Regions from separate parts of the Homo sapiens genome. Here region 2 is linked to region 1. The links are contacts of gene promoters, found by promoter capture Hi-C in human tissues and cell types (Jung and others, 2019). All regions are on one chromosome and are shown on one strand. Each heading gives the region's core, a stretch centred on a gene start or on the middle of the fragment in contact. The rest is flanking DNA. Distances are from core to core; before and after follow the strand shown. Region 1 holds the start of ADCY6 (adenylate cyclase 6). Region 2 overlaps KANSL2 (KAT8 regulatory NSL complex subunit 2).

Region 1 (3,763 bases), core at 596-3,095:
ATGGCGTGATCTCGGCTCACTGCAACCTCCGCCTCCCGGGTTCAAGCGATTCTCCTGCCTCAGCCTCTCGAGTAGCTGGGACTACAGGTGCCCGCCACCACGCCCAGCTAATTTTTAATAGAGACGGGGTTTCACCATGTTGGCCAGAATGGTCTCGATTTCTTGACCTTGTGATCCACCCGCCTCGGCCTCCCAAAGTGCTGGGATTACAGGCGTGAGCCACCGCGCCCGGCCAGCAAAAACAATTTTTAAGGAAATTTTGAAGTGAGAAGTCAGGCAAAGAGGCCCCAAAGATCAAATTGCAGGCCAGGCCTGCACAACTGAGAAATGAGAAAGTACCACTTTCCCATTTTCAAACATTATAACAAACATTTCTCTATCTGATTCTGAAAACCCTGTAAGAAAGACAAGGCAGATGGTTTTATTCCCATTTCAAGAGATTGATGATTTACCCAAGGTATATAGTTTGCAGGTACACGTGGCTGATAAATGTTGGAAACTGGCTTTCCCAACTCTTCTTTTCCTTGCCTGAAGCTCTGTCCTGGACTTAGGAATCCCAGTGGTGATTTGGAGTGGACAAGACTTGAGTCTTGAAGGACAGGACTGCAGGGAGGGCTGGTCCTGAGGAGGAAGCATCTTCAGATACCTAGGTCTTGGGATCTTGGGTGGGGAATAGGCTGCTTGGGGAAGGGCTGAATTGGAAGGAGGAGCTAGAGGTCTGACTGAGGGAATGGAGAGGGGGCCTCAAAAGGAAGCCAGGCAGGCTGCCTTCTTCCCAGCTCCAGAATGGCACCCCCTCTAAAGTCACACTCACCTACGTACATCCTGGAGTGAAACTCCTTCTCCTTTCTGCTTCCACCATTACTCTAATCCTCAAAGGGTTAACCAGCTTTCACACGATTTTCCCATCTCCCAGGTAACTTGGGCAGCTGCTCCGTGCTGGAAATAACTAAAGACCCAGTTTCTCAGTTCGTGCACTTAGCAATGCACCCCAGTAGCCCCTCCAACCCCCAGCAGAGAAGCACAGCCCTTTGGGTAAAAGATGCCTGGGGGTGAGGCTGCAAGTTGGCAGGTGCGGGGGAGGGGCTCCCAGAGAGTAGGGCGGGGGGTTGTGGGGGCGGCAGGGAGAGTGCCCCTTCCCTGGGTCCCTCCACTGGGCCCCGAGGTTCGCCTCGGGGCCGCTGCCCCAGAGACTGGGGGGAAGAGGAAAGAAGTGGTGTGCGGGCAAGCAGGCCGCACACACCTGGCGCCTTGTGGAATGAGAGCTTAATTAATTATTAAACTGAGTTCCCGCGGGAGGGCGCAGGGCCGTGACAGGCAGGGCGGGAATGGCTAGGTGGGGGCTGGGGCTGGGGCAGGGGCAGGGAGGAATTGGGGATGAAGAGTGGGCGCGGGGCGCCGGCCCAACCCCTGGGACCCTGACAGGAAGGAAGGCGACCCTCGGTGGGCGGGGCGGGGGATGTAGCCGTGAGGGGTGGGTTTGCGGGCGCGCTCGGGGACCCCCGGGGTGAGGGCGGGAGAGGAATGCCGGAGGAGGCGGCCGGGGTGAAGGGAAGGGGACCGGGCTGCGAGGTCCCCTCCCCGCGGGGTCTTGATCCCAGAACAGTAGCTGCTTGTCTTCCCAGGACTGGGGGAGGAAGCGGCCGGAGGAGAGGAGGGGGCGCGCGGAGGGAGGGGTCCCATTATTTGGCCTCCTCCGCCCCTACCCCGCTGCTAGGAAGGGGAGTGGGCAACTCGGCCCCCACTTCTGGGGAGGGGGAGGGGGATGCCCAGACAAAAGGAGCTTGTGCCTTTAAGGCGGGGAGTCCGGGAGCCAGCGGGGAGGGGACTTCTGGATCCGGGGTAGAGGGCGGCTGCGCTGGACAGCTCGGGAGGGGGCGAGGGCCGGGCGGACGGCGGACGGCGGACGGCGGGCGGGACGGCCAGGACGCGCGGGCTCGGAGGACCGCGGGACGGCCGGCCGGCCGGCCGGAGCCCGCGGGGGCGGCGGGGCGGGGGCCCAGGGCAGGCGCGGAGCCGGGCCGGCAGGTGAGCGCGCTGAGGGCTAGGGGAAGTGGCCGCTCGGGCTCCCGGTGCGCCAGGATTGGAACGCACCCGAGCGGCTCTCGACAAGAGTTTGTGGGTGGGGGCGCCGAAGCCTTGGACGGGTCGTCTCGGCAGTGTTGCCCGAGGGAGTTGGGGTTGGCAAAGGGAAGTCATGGAGGCAGTGGGATCGAGGACTCCTAGGTCCGGCGCTCGCCACCCCCGTCGCCCGCCGCCTGCCTCCCTCCACGGGGCGAGTTCCAGGCTGGCCCGGAGGCCAGGAGGATCTGGCACGTACTGGGGGAGGGGCTGGCCTGAGTTTTTTGCTGCGGGGCTGTGGGGTGTCTCCGAGTTTGGGGGAGATTCCATTTAGGGGAGAGGAACCGGCCTGGGCAGAGGGAGGGATGCCCTCTGTCTGCGGGAGTCCCTCTCCTTCCCCTCACCCAAAACCTTGGGAATGAAAGGGGTGGGGTCGGCTCCCCACATCCCCCAAGGCCTGCCGCAGGGTGGGCAGGGGAGCTGACTTTATTCAAAGCAGACTCTGGGGCTCGACTGAAAGGCTAGAGGTGGAATCAGGCGTGGGAGCCTCTTTGCCCATATCCTCTCCTTACCAGATTACCCCTGTGAGCTGGAGGGACCTGGTGGGGGTTGCATAGTAAAGGGTGATGTGGGAGCCCTCTGTAATCTTTAGGGAGAGTGAGGACTGGGGATGGGAGAAGGCGGCAGCGGGCACTGGACCGACAGATACAGGCCCTGGGTAGGCTCCTCTACATCTGGAAAGGCCCAGAATTGAAGAATTGAGGCCCATGTCCGAGTATGGTGGGTGGTGCTGGCACTGCTGGGCCCCGCCTGGGCAGTGCCTCTTACCATGAACTTTCTGAAGTCGTTTTTAATCCCCTGGAGCCTCCTTTTGCCAAGGAGGGCAGGGGCAGATGGGCCCTGGGGATGGGATAGACAGGAGGTGGCCAGGAAGGCTTGGCAAGGCAGTGGGCAGAGCCATCCTTAGGGCTGGGCCTTGGCCTTGGCTGGTTCCAAACTCTGGTCTCAGCCTGATCAGGGTTTGGGAGGGACTTGAGGTCTGGGAGGCACTGAGCCTGGGCCTGCCAGGCTGAATGGGACATGGCTGTGGCTGTGGGAGCCGGTGGTATGAAGAACAGCAGATCTGTGAGAGTGCAAATGGACCAACACTCAGGGGAGGAGAAGGTAGAGGCACAAGGCTTAGGAGCCTGACTCTGGGGAGGAGGGAGGTGGTCTGTGCTCCCAGGGCTCATAGTGATGGGTTGCTGGACAAAGTGGGTTGGGGGACCATATAGAGAAATTTTGTGGCTTGGAACAGTGCTCTACCCTGTTTCCTGCCATACCAGTCTGGCATGGGGTGCCAGAAATGTTGGGAGGCCGGCAAGTTCTGCGGGATGGGCAGTGCCTGGAGTGGAGCCCAGGGTGGGATGGTTGCAGTTGGTTGGACAATTACATAGCTCTGAAGCTATCCCCTTGGGGGGGGTCAGAGTGTTCCTGGGAGGGTCATGCATTCTCCTGGATAGCATTTGCCCCTTTCTCTGTGAGTATGAGCCAGATGCTAGGATGTGTTTCCAGGGGGCTTGGAACATGGCCAGAAACTAGTCCTTTGGGAACAGGTCCGGGCCAGTGCTGGTGGGGGTGGTGTGTTGGGGGAGATAAGAACAGGGAAGGGGACTGGTGAATGGAGGAGGCTGAAGCAAAATGTTGTGGGTGGTGGATGGTG
Region 2 (4,187 bases), core at 1,088-3,587, 110 kb after region 1:
ACGGGGTTTCTCCATGTTGGCAGGCTGGTCTTGAACTCCTGATCTGAGGTGATCTGCCCGTCAGCCTCCCAAAGTGCTGGGATTACAGGGACGAACCAGTGCGCCCAGTGATCCTAGCACTTTGGGAGGTCGAGGTGGGAGGATTGCTTGAGCCCAGGAGTTCGAGACCAGCCTGGGCAACATAGGGAGACACCGTCTCTACGAAAGATTTAAAAATTAGCCAGACGTGGTGGTGCACGTGGTCTGTAGTCTTAACTACTCGAGAGGCTCAAGTAGGAGGATGGCTTGAGCCTGGGAGGTTGAGGCTCTGTGATCGTGCCACTGCATTCCAGTCTGGGCAACAGAGGGAGACCCTATCTCATACACACAGAAAAAATAAATAAAAGCTTGTCTACAACATCTAATACTTAAGAAATTTTATCCTTAAGGTAATTGTTAAATTTTCATTTCCCTTTTTTAAATAATAATTGTATCATATGACCTCTATAAACATCTATAACTTGTTTGGCTGAAGGTTATTTCACATTATTGAATCTTCATCATTGTTTTCCAAATAAATTTGGAGAATGCCCTTTATAAGAGAGACTATTTAGTAGAATATAAGGTGAGACCCTCTTTTTTGAAGATGAATGCTAATAATAAAACCTTGACTTTAATTTGTGCATACCAGAGCAAGGGGAATTAGTACATAATTTTAATGTCCGGCTCTGAAAGTCTGGCGCATTCATCTTTAAGTAAATGAGCCATCTGTTACATGAACCAGCCGGCATTCATTTAGTAGGTTGCTTACTGCCCCCACCAAATGATTTCTAATAACTTCTAATAGTAATGGCTTCAGATAGGTACATTTCAGTTCCAGACCATTGGTTAAATTCTCTTCTGACAGGGTGCAGTGAAATTAATTTTTTAAAACAATTTTTATTTTTCTCATTTTCAGTATTCAAAAAGTGAATTTCATTTTAACAAACTCTATATTAGGTTAAGGCCTCAGTATTTTAGGTTACAGACAGGTTAATGTAGGCATAACCCATTTTTCTGAAGATGTAACTTAGTCACCTTGTGAAACCGTTATGTATTTATTTTTGAGACGGACTCTCACTCTGTTGCCAGGCTGGAGCGCAGTGGCACGATCTCAGCTCACTGCAACCTTTGCCTCCTGGGTTCAAGCAATTCTTCTGCCTCAGCCTCCCTAGTAGCTGGGACTACAGGCGCACGCCGCTGTGCCCGGCTAATTTCTTTCTTTTTTTTGTATTTTAGTAGAGATGGGGTTTCACCATGTTGCCCAGGCTGGTCTCAAACTCCAGAGCTCAGGCAGTATGCCCACCTCGGTCTCCCAAAGTGCTAGAATTACAGGCTTGAGCCACCGTGCCCAGCCAACTGTTACATATTTTTAAAGCCTTTTCACATTTTCTGATAGTCTGTTAGCTTTTGTCATTTCTGTAATTTGCTGGTTTTATTTTATTTTATTTATTTTTAAATTTATTTTTTATTAATTTTATTTTATTATATATTATTTTTATTTATTTATTTAATTTGTTTATTTTATTTAATTTTTTATTTTTGGAGACAGAGTCTCGTTCTGTCGCCCAGGCTGGAGCGCGGTGGTGCGATCTCGGCTCACTGTAATCTCTGCCTACCAGGTTCAAGTGATTCTCCTGCCTCAGCCTCCCGAGTAGCTGGGATTATAGGTGCTTGCCACCATACCTGGCTAATTTTTGTATTTTTAGTAGAGAGGCTGTTTTGCCATGTTGGCCAGGCTGGTCTCGAACTCCTGACCTCAAGTGATCCACCCACCTTGGCCTTGTGCACCACACCTGGCCCTTTGCTGGTTTTATTAACCATGTTTTGATTTTTCTTAATTTCTTTTCACTTTTACTTCAGAATATAGTTAAGTACCTCTTATACACAGGTAATATTGGCTTTTGTTTATATTTATGAAGAAATTTTGGCAGAAATTACTTGCTCTCAGTCCTAAAGTTAATTTTGTATATTCTGTGTATTTCAGTGCCTTAACAGCTAGTTTTTAAAAATAAAGCAGAGGCTGGCCACAGTGGCTCACGCCTGTAATCCTAGCACTTTGGGAGGCCGAGTCGGGTGGAATGCCTGAACTCAGGAGTTTGAGACCAGCCTGGGAAACATGGTGAAACCCCATCTCTACTAAAAATACAAAAAATAAAAAAATTAGCCAGGTGTGGTGGCACACGCCTGCAATCTCAACTACTGTGGAGGCTGAGGCACGAGAATTGCTTGAACCCGGGAGGCGGAGGTTGCAGTGAGCCAACATTGTGCCACTTCAGTGCAGCCTGGGAAACAGAGCAAGACTCTGTCTTAAAAACGAAAAAGTAATAAAGCATAATTTTTTGACTTAAAATTAGTATAATTTATGTGTTTTGCCTTTTCAATAAAATTTTTACTCAGTATGAAACTTAAGGTATATAGCTTGTTCTTTGTATTTATGTAATGATCAGACGGTGAGTGAAACAAAATTTTTAAAATTCAAAGTTATTCACTTATTTATTTATTTATTTATTTATTTTTGAGACATGGTCTTGCTCTGTCACCCAGGTTGGAGTGCAGTGGCGCCATCTCAGCTCACTGCAGCCTCCCACTCCCAGGCTGAAGTGATCCTTTCACCTCAGTCTCCTGAGTATCTGGGACTACAGGTATACACCACCGTGCCCAGCTAACTTTTGTATTTTTTGTATTGACAGGGTTTTATCATGTTACAGCCCAGGCTGGTCTTGAACTCCCAGGCTCAAGCAATCTGCCTGCCTCGGCCTCCCAAAGTGCTGGGATTACAGGCGTGAGCTATCACACCTGGCCTCATCTCTTAATTTTGATTGCATAAATCAGAGCCAGAGAACAGTCTACCATATATTAATCACTAGCAAAACTTTTAGAAGTTCTTTTTTTTTTTTTTTCTTTTTTTGAGATGGAGTCTTGCTCTGTCACCCAGGCTGGAATGCAGTGGCACGATCTCAGCTCACTGCAACCTCTGCCTCCCGGGTTCAAGCAATTCTCCTGCCCCAGCCTCCCGAGTAGCTGGGATTATAGGCGCCCACCACCATACCTGGTTGATTTTCGTATTTTCAGTAGAGACGGGGTTTCGCCATGTTGGCCAGGCTGGTCTTGAACACCTGACCTCAGGTGATTCGCCTGCCTTGGCCTCCCAAGGTGCTAGGATTACAGGTGTGAGCCACCGTGCCTGGCCAGATATTCTTTTAGTTTATAATTGGCAGCAAAGCTTAATCAAGTTGATATGGATCCGTGCCAGATCTTTGGCAATTAAGGGTTAACCTAGGGTACTGAATTTTGAGAATATTGTCAAGAAAATTAGCTGAGGACAGGGTATAGCCCATTTTGACTAGTTATTTGAGGGTCCATATGAGCTCCAATATAGGCCTATATTTTTTAAACAATTACAAATTTTGGCTGGGCACAGTGGCTCATGCCTGTAATCCCACCACTTTGGGAGGCCGAGGCTGGAAGATCGATCTGAGGTCAGGAGTTAAGACCAGCCTGACCAACATGGAGAAACCCCATCTCTACTGAAAATATAAAAATTAGCTGGGCGTGGTGGTAGGTGCCTGTAATGCCAGCTACTTGGGAGGCTGAGACAGGAGAATCACTTGAACCTGGGAAGCGGAGGTTGCAGTGAGCCAAGGTTGTGCCACTGCACTCCAGCCTGGGTGACAGAGCAAGACTGTCTCAAAAAAAAAAATTATTTGATGTTGGTATCTTTAGTGCTTTAATTAAAATATATTGCCAGGTGCAGTAGCTTATGCGTTTAATTCCAGCACTTTGTGAGGCTGAGGCGGGAGCATCGCTTAAACCCAGGGGTTCAAGCCTGGACAACATGGTGAAATCCCATCTCTACAAAAAATACAAAAATTAACCAAGTGGGGTGGTGCACACCTGTAGTCCCAGCTACTCGGCAGGCTGACGTGGGAGGATCGCTTGAGCCCAGGAAGCAAAGGTTATAGTGAGCTGTGATTGATTGCACCACTGCACTCCATCCTGGGTGACAAGAGTGAGACCTTATCTCAAAAAAAAAATATATATATATATATATATATATACGTATATATATATATACATGTATATATATATACGTATATATACATGTATATATGTATATGTGAAAGATACATGTTAATTGAACACTTTAAAGCTGTCTTGACTGGTAA

What was found. Contacts are between HindIII fragments. The study calls those that stand out against the background at their distance.
Region 2: a contact is called between a fragment that was not itself captured here and the fragment with the promoter of ADCY6 in region 1, in 2 of the 25 tissues and cell types used here (H1 embryonic stem cells and heart right ventricle).

The regions. Positions count from the first base shown.
Region 1 is chr12:48,787,171-48,790,933 of GRCh38, reverse strand. ADCY6 (adenylate cyclase 6) reads left to right here and starts at 1,845. Exons shown (of 22, transcript NM_015270.5): 1 at 1,845-2,028. It overlaps ADCY6-DT (ADCY6 divergent transcript), which reads right to left and starts at 1,787. Exons shown (of 3, transcript NR_110019.1): 1 at 1,707-1,787; 2 at 815-949; 3 at 399-621. RefSeq lists an enhancer at 2,898-3,442. The HindIII fragment of the contact is 15,533 bases long and covers 1-3,763 here.
Region 2 is chr12:48,672,302-48,676,488 of GRCh38, reverse strand. All of the region lies in intron 4 of KANSL2 (KAT8 regulatory NSL complex subunit 2), which reads left to right. Among named protein-coding and RNA genes, the nearest start is that of SNORA2B, 6.8 kb to the right of the region's middle. The HindIII fragment of the contact is 6,757 bases long and covers 1-4,187 here.